2 separate regions of the Homo sapiens genome follow, and region 1 is linked to region 2. Evidence: promoter capture Hi-C in human tissues and cell types (Jung and others, 2019). All regions are on one chromosome and are shown on one strand. Each heading gives the region's core, a stretch centred on a gene start or on the middle of the fragment in contact. The rest is flanking DNA. Distances are from core to core; before and after follow the strand shown. Region 1 overlaps STEAP2-AS1 (STEAP2 antisense RNA 1). Region 2 holds the start of ZNF804B (zinc finger protein 804B).

Evidence for each region. Contacts are between HindIII fragments. The study calls those that stand out against the background at their distance.
Region 1: a contact is called between a fragment that was not itself captured here and the fragment with the promoter of ZNF804B in region 2, in 1 of the 25 tissues and cell types used here (stomach).

What each region holds. Positions count from the first base shown.
Region 1 is chr7:89,984,441-89,988,459 of GRCh38, reverse strand. All of the region lies in intron 2 of STEAP2-AS1 (STEAP2 antisense RNA 1), which reads left to right. Among named protein-coding and RNA genes, the nearest start is that of STEAP1, 170 kb to the left of the region's middle. The HindIII fragment of the contact is 3,398 bases long and covers 125-3,522 here.
Region 2 is chr7:88,758,163-88,761,972 of GRCh38, reverse strand. ZNF804B (zinc finger protein 804B) reads right to left here and starts at 2,273. Exons shown (of 4, transcript NM_181646.5): 1 at 1,889-2,273. The coding sequence starts at 1,996. RefSeq lists an enhancer at 1,583-2,127. The HindIII fragment of the contact is 17,200 bases long and covers 1-3,810 here.

The DNA.
Region 1 (4,019 bases), core at 574-3,073, 1.2 Mb before region 2:
GGGAAGATAAGCTTGTAGTGGACGTTTTCAGTGTGGAATTGAACAGACTATAGTTTTAGGAGCTAGACTTAGATTGTAGACCTAAAATTACAATTGGGATGTCCTTGTTTATGGGAGAATTTACTTAGAAATGATCTGTGGGGGTGGCCCTTCATAGATGCCTGAGGCCTTTTACTTGGGCTGATGCATAATGTTGTCATAGCTAGTCATCTGGAAGAGGGAGACTCAGCCTTCAAGCTTAAACTTCCCTTTTACATAAAGAGTTTGGATACCCTGGGATTTAAAAATTTTCCTTTACAATAAAAACTCAAGTTTTCCACTTGTATTTCTCAAACATTATGAATAGCACTACTTTTGTTTATGCCAGTAATAACTCTTAAATTATTTTTTTTCACTTTTTTTATTCAAAGCAATTGCATTTGACCAAGATAGCCTTAGTGTTTCCTTCAGCTCCCCCAAACGTTTAAATAGGCTGCTTCCGACCGACCTCTAGACCCCTGATCTCCCTTTCTAAGGTAAAACATTCACTTTAGAAAACTTGTAATTATAAATGTTTCACTGCTCCTTTGTGATGCAAAACTTTTTTAAAAGCCTTCTGCCAGTTTTACCACCCAGGATTGTCTTTCTCAAAGATCTACAGCCATCTCTTTGATATGTAATTGTCAAGGAAGTTAGACCTTCTGTATCCCAGTTTCTGTGGGAGAGTAGGAACCTAACTTTGGTGGGCACCTTGCTTCCAGTTGTAAAACTATCTCCTGTCATGAAGGTATGAGAATGTTGACTCTCTCTTTGGGTAAAACCAACTAGCAAACACAGATGGTCTAAGACCCTTCTGTCTCAGCTCTTAAAAACTTCCCAGGTGTTTGTTTCAGAAGAATTGCATTTACACTGAGTTCAGGCCTCCTTCTCCTATTGCAATATTCTTTTTGTAAAGCTTTATTTTTAATTGACAAACAATAATTGTATATATTTATGGGCTACAAAGTGTTGTTTACAGGCTGGATGTGGTGGCTCATGCCTGTAATCCCAGCACTGTGGGAGGCTGAAATGGGTGGATTACCTGAGGCCAGGAGTTCACGACCAACCTGGCCAACATGGTGAAACTGCATCTCTACTAAAAATAGAAAAATTAGCTGGGCATGGTGGCACACCCCTGTAATCCCAGCTACTTGGGAGGCTGAGGCAGAATTGTTTGAACCCAGGAGGCGGAGGTTGCAGTGAGCCAAGATTGCGCCATTGCACTCCAGCCTGGGCAACAAGAGTGAAACTCCATAACAAAAACAAAAACAAAACAAAAAAAGTGTTGTTCACATGTTACATTGTGGAATGATCAAATCAGAGTAATTAGCATATCCATCACCTCAAATATTTATTGTTTATTTGTGATGAGAATATCTAAAATCTTCACTTTAAGCTATTTTAAAATGTACAATATATTAACTGTAGTCACCTTGCTGTGAAATAGAACATCCAGAACTTATTCCTTCTAACTGTAACTTTGTACCCATTCAACAACATCTCCCCTTTCCCGATCTTCCTCCCCTCAACTCCCAGCCTCTAGGAGCCACCATTCTACACTTTACCTCTGTGAGTCCAACCTGTTTAGATCCCACATATAAGTGAGATCATATGGCATTAGTCTTTCTGTGCCTGGCTTATTTCAACTAAATGTCCTCAAGTTTCTTCCATATCACAAATGATAGAATTTCCTGTTTTTTTTTTCTTTTAAGGCTAAACAGTATTTTGTTGTGTATATATGACATATTTTAAAAATTGATTATCCATTAGTGAACTATTAGGTTGTTTCCACAACTTGGATATTGTGAATAATGCTGCAGTGAACATGGGAGTGCAGACTTCCCTTCAACAGAGTTCATTTCCTTTTGTGTATACCCAGCAGTGGTATTGCTAGATGATATAGTAATTCTATTTTTAGTTTTTTGAGGAACCACTGTACTATTCTCCAAAATGGCTGTATTGCAATAGTCTTGAATAAAGTTTTTGTTGCCTGTTTAACATTGTCCAGTAAAATGTTTGCTTTGATATTCCCATACTTTATGCTTTCTACATTTTCCAGAATCCCCTGAAAACCTCTTCCCTAGCTGCAGACTTCTGACTCTTCTGTTGATTTATTCAAATGAAAAGCTTCCAAAGAACCCTTCTGAATCCCCCAAATAGAGCATGATGGGAAGGACAGAATGGGCTAAGCTAGAATTTTCTTTGGTAGGCAAGAAAGTAAAGGGCTGGAGACATTGAAGCAATACTAATTAACTTTTGTGTCTTCATATATGTTGTGTGAACTCTGAAAATTTGAGACAGGTCTCAGTTAATTTAGAAAGTTTATTTCGCTGAGGTTGAGGACGTGCACCCATGACACAGTCTCAAGAAGTCCTGACAACTTGTGCCCAAGGTGGTCAGGGCATAGCTTGGTTTTATACATTTTAGGGAGACATTAGATATCAATCAACATATGTAAGAAGTAAACTGGTTCCATCCAGAAAGGCAGGGACAACTCTAAGCAAGGAGAGACCTTCCAGGTCACAGGTGGGTAAGAGACAAATGGTTACATTCTTCTGAGTTTCTGATAAGACTTTCCAAAGGAGGCAAACAGAATGTGCATCTATCTCAGTGAGCAGAGGGATGACTTTGAATAGAATGGGAGGCAGGTTTTCCCTGAGCAGTTTCCAGCTTGAGTTTTCTATTTAGCTTAGTGATTTTCAGGGCCCAAGATATTTTTCTTTCACAGTTGTGTACTGTCTACATGATAACTCTTTTCATAAGATTGCTTCATGTATTGGTGAATATTTAAATAAGGAAGGATCATTTTCCAATAATATCCCAGAACTTAATTACTGGGTGACACCAAGAACTTGCTCACTGGCTTCCTTATCTTCAGTCTCACTAATTCAGTCTCTTCTTAAAACCCCATCATCTCAGCCCAAAATCTCCTAAAGCTGATAGGCAAATTCAGCAAAGTCTCAGGATACAAAATCAATGTGTAAAAATCACAAGCATTCTTATACACCAATAACAGACAAACAGAACCAAATCATGAGTGAACTCCCATTCACAATTGCTTCAAAGAGAATAAAATACCTAGGAATCCAACTTACAAGGGATGTGAAGGACCTCTTCAAGGAGAACTACAAACCACTGCTCAAGGAAATAAAAGAGGATACAAACAAATAGAAGAACATTCCATGCTCATGGGTAGGAAGAATCAATATCATGAAAATGGCCATACTGCCCAAGGTAATTTATAGATTCAATGCCATCCCCATCAAGCTACCAATGACTTTTTTCACAGGATTGGAAAAGACTACTTTAAAGTTCATATGGAACCAAAAAAGAGCCCACATCACCAAGTCAATCCTAAGCCAAAAGAACAAAGCTGGAGGTATGCTACCTGAGTTCAAACTATACTATAAGGCTACAGTAACCAAAACAGCATGGTACTGGTACCAAAACAGAGATATAGAACAATGGAACAGAACAGAGCCCTCAGAAATAATGCTGCATATCTACAACCATCTGATCTTTGACAAATCTGACAAAAATAAGCAATGGGGAAAGAATTCCCTATTTAATAAATGGTGCTGGGAAAACTGGCTAGCCATATGTAGAAAGCTGAAACTGGATCCCTTCCTTACACCTTACACAAAAATTAATTCGAGATGGATTAAAGACTTACATGTCAGACCTAAAACCATAAAAACCCTAGAAGAAAACCTAGGCAATACCATTGAAGACATAGGCATGGGCAAGGACTTCATGTCTAAAACACCAAAAGCAATGGCAACAAAAGCCAAAATTGACAAATGAGATCTAATTAAACTGAAGAGCTTCTGCATAGCAAAAGAAACTACAATCAGAATGAACAGGCAACCTACAGAATGGGAGAACATTTTTGCAATCTACTCATCTGACAAAGGGCTAATATTCAGAATCTACAATGAACTCAAACAAATCTACAAGAAAAAAACAAATAGCCCCATCAAAAAGTGGGCGAAGGATATGAA
Region 2 (3,810 bases), core at 1,024-3,523:
AATGGGCTGTCTTCTCCCATCCACATTCACACATCCAGTCTCTATAGTGTCAGTCAGGCTCTTGGGAGATGACTGACCAAAGTGGGAGAGAAAGGACACTTTTTGACCATGTAACAGAAATTCTTCTGCAAGCCCTACAGATTTGGGAAGATGAACACCATAGTCTAACCAACTTGAATAGAACTAAACCGTGTAAGATTATGAAGCAATTCTCCCTTTATACTGAGAAGTCTTAAGGCACAAACAGTACAATGCCCTACCCAATTTAGTTTTCCATAACCAAAAGGAGGGCAAGGGAGACAGGCACGGAGATTACCAAAGCGTTGAAAAATAATACCTGTGAGAAAGGCAGAACATTGTATGTTTTCTAGATGAAATAGACTTAAAGAAGAATTTAAAGGATTTAAGTTGGCTGTAAGAAAGATTCTCCTGGCACTGTGAGTTGTTAAACATTAAAGTGGTTTGCTGAGACTGCAGGAACTCCAATTCTGAGAATCTTTAGAAATGGGAAAGATTCAGACCTGCTACTTAGAGGGACTGAATGTGGGCTTTATTAAACTAGAACTCTGCAAGTGCCTGCTAACCCTGTGAGTTTAATTGTTAAGTACTTATACAAACAGTATTTTCCATCTAACAGTTCTGACTCAGTACTGTATACAGTTGTTGGGGGGAGCAGTTGCAACAACCCACTTTTTATAGTACATAAAAGCATGTGAAGGAATAGTTTGTCATGAGGAATCCTAGTGATATCTCTGGGCACCTGTACTTTCTGATCTTAGATTTCTCATGTAAATTACATATAGCATTTATTAATAATCAAAGGCTTTTATAATATGTTGCAGTTTTGAATAATTCATGCTAAAGAAGCATTAAACCATGATGGAAAATATCAAACATAAAAAAATTAAAGTTGGGCAATTTCAGTTTTCCCTCTTGATATCATACAGACTTAAATACTGTTTTTTATATGAAACCTCAAAAGTTGGTCTTTAAGTTTGGATACTTAGTCACTAGTAGTCCAAAACTAATATATATATATATTTATTATATATATATTTATTATATATATATTTATTATATATATATATAAATTACACACACATACACATTCACACACATTTTCTTGAAACATATTTGGAGCCTTAAAACATAATAGCATGTACCAAGAAATGAATTAATAATGTATTTAACTCATATAATCTGGATGAAATTATTTTATAAAAAGAATGTGAATAAACTGAATAGTAACTAAATTGAATAGTTTACTAAGTTAAAAAGCAATCACGTTAATTGCATGTTAATATATTTGTATATTATACAATAAATTATCCAACTCAGATTTCCATAAAGAATTCTCTTACTTCCCCTTAAAGAATGTGCATAGTTGAGCATTAGATATAATCAAGTTTTCACTACCTATAACTTTCCTTTTGCCAATGATTTGAGGGAAAATCTTTGAGTTTTTCTCACAAAGTAACAGTAGCATTATTAAACTAATCTCAACTGATGACTTTACAAAAGCACATTATAACGTGCCACTCAAACTTTCTACACTGCTCAAATCAGCAGATTCGTAAGTTGACATAGCACAGAGGAGCTACCTTCTGAGCCCTGCAGTTGACTGCATTCAGTAAGTATTTACATCCGTAGCACTATAGATCCTACTGACTGAATTGAAAATACACATGTAAATACACACCCCTCTCTGTGTCACAGTCTGTCAATAAATTGTATAAACGGACACGATGTATCTCCATACCTATGGATAAGGTATACGTTTTAGATGTCCACCACCTACTCATTGTATCAGGATACTATCTCTCAATATCTTTTTGTTTGTGTTGAGTTGGAACGTTTGTGTATGTATGTGTGTGCGCGCGCACATTACCGGAGAGGGAGATCCGTTCTTGCACAGGGGTCCCCTGAAGACTCCTTTAATGCCCCGGTAGTGCCCATTGCTGAGATGTCTCGAACTGATGACCAGGTAACAAGCCATGTGGGTCCGGGCGGAGGCGCAGAGTCTCAACTCCTCACCAGGCGACCAGCCGTGGAAAGCGGGCGGGTTTCTCAGCGGCAACAGCGACTACCACCTCCCGAGAAGACGCGGCCAGCAGGACGCAGGGGGAGGCGGTGGCAGCGCGTCCCTGCTCCGCGCCCCGTGCGGGGCTCCTGCTGCCGACAGCTGCTGCTCTGACAGAGGCGGCGGCGGCGACAGCACAGAGCACGGAGGGGACCCGGCGAGCCAGTCCACATGCTGCTCTGACGAGGTGGCTGCTCAACCGCGGGCCAGCGATATATTTATTTAAGGACAACTTCCAGGGTCCACCAGGGAATCAGGAATTCCCCCGCCCCTTTCCTCCCGCCCCCTGCCTTCGCGCCTGGCGCCTGCCCGGGGGATGCTCAGGCGCGGGTACCCATCGTCCGGCCGGGGGCGTCCTGGGCTGCTGGCTGCAGTGTGAAGATCCAGCAGCAGCCGCCGCCACCGCCGCTGCTTTGTGGGGAGAGTGGCGGGGAGTCCTTGGGAGCGCCAAAGCGCTGCCCCCGCTGCAGTCGGGAGAGGGCGGAGGAGGAGACGGGCGGGCCGGGGTGAGGACAGGGAGTTGGGGACGCGGCGACCTGTGCTTGAGGAGGGCAGTTAGCGCCTCTGCTGGGAGCTGTGGGCTCGGGGCTGCCCAGGAGGCTCAGGTGTGCTGTGGGGCGAGGCCAGGAGGTGACAGCTGCCGCTGCAGCCGCGGGGGGCTCTCGGGGCTGCAGGACCCGCCTCTCCCACCTCCCGGCCTCAGCCGCCCAGCCCCCCGGTTCTTCTGCCCTATCTCTGAGCCAACTTTCTACTGTTTGGGAGTCACCTGGGAGGACTGGGGAGGCTGTGGTGGAGGAGATGGGCAGGAGGAGGGCGTTTTCTTTACTCTTTCGTTGCCTGCTGGCCTTCAGCTTTTCTTCAGCGCTCTGGCTGACGGCGGCGTTGGCAGAAGCAACAGCTCCCCAGCCGGTTGCAAGAATGAGCTGTGCAGCCACAAATAGGGCAGACAGATTAGATGCGCCGTGGTAGGGAACGCACGGACGAGGAAAGTTTTGGGCAGAAAACTTATATAAGGTATAGAAACGAGACATGCATACGTATATGTGCATATACATGCACGTACCCAGAGTTATGAAGATTCACTTACAAGCCTTTCTGTATCTTAGCGAGGCACATATTTTTGGTCTCTATAAGACCTCTGTGCTTTCAAAACCCCCAATAATCACCCCTCTCAGAAGTGGTTTTTAACGGACCTTATTTCGTTTACCGTAATTTAAGCCACCAGGGAGCGAGCTGCACTGAGAATAAAAAGACCTGGGCAGAAATGTGCTCTGAAAGGAGAAGATAGCCCTCCCAGGGTTTGGAGACACCCTGCACTCTCCTCCACCCCGCGGTTGCTTAATGCGGTTCTGCAATCCATCTCTGCCTCACCTCGCCTTGTCTGTGCCTGGGAGAAGGTAAAGGTTCACCTCCTCTCAGTCTGTTGCTTCAGCGCTGGAATTGAAAGGCTACCGCCAATGCGCTAATTCTCCCCAGTATTGTCCTCTCCTGTCTCCCACAATGCCCCATTCGCATCCCGGTTGACATTGACACAAAAGCAGAAACAGGTTAAAAGGAAAAAAAAACTGTTAATTTAATTTTTCCTATTCAGGCAACTCATAAAATTCTTAAGCAAAAAAGGAACAAAAAAGAATCTAATTATAACTTTTGTAACTACCCAATAAAAGCTTGACTTTTTGTTTACATCATTACAATGGCTTAATATCCTTAATATTTTATTTAAAAAATAC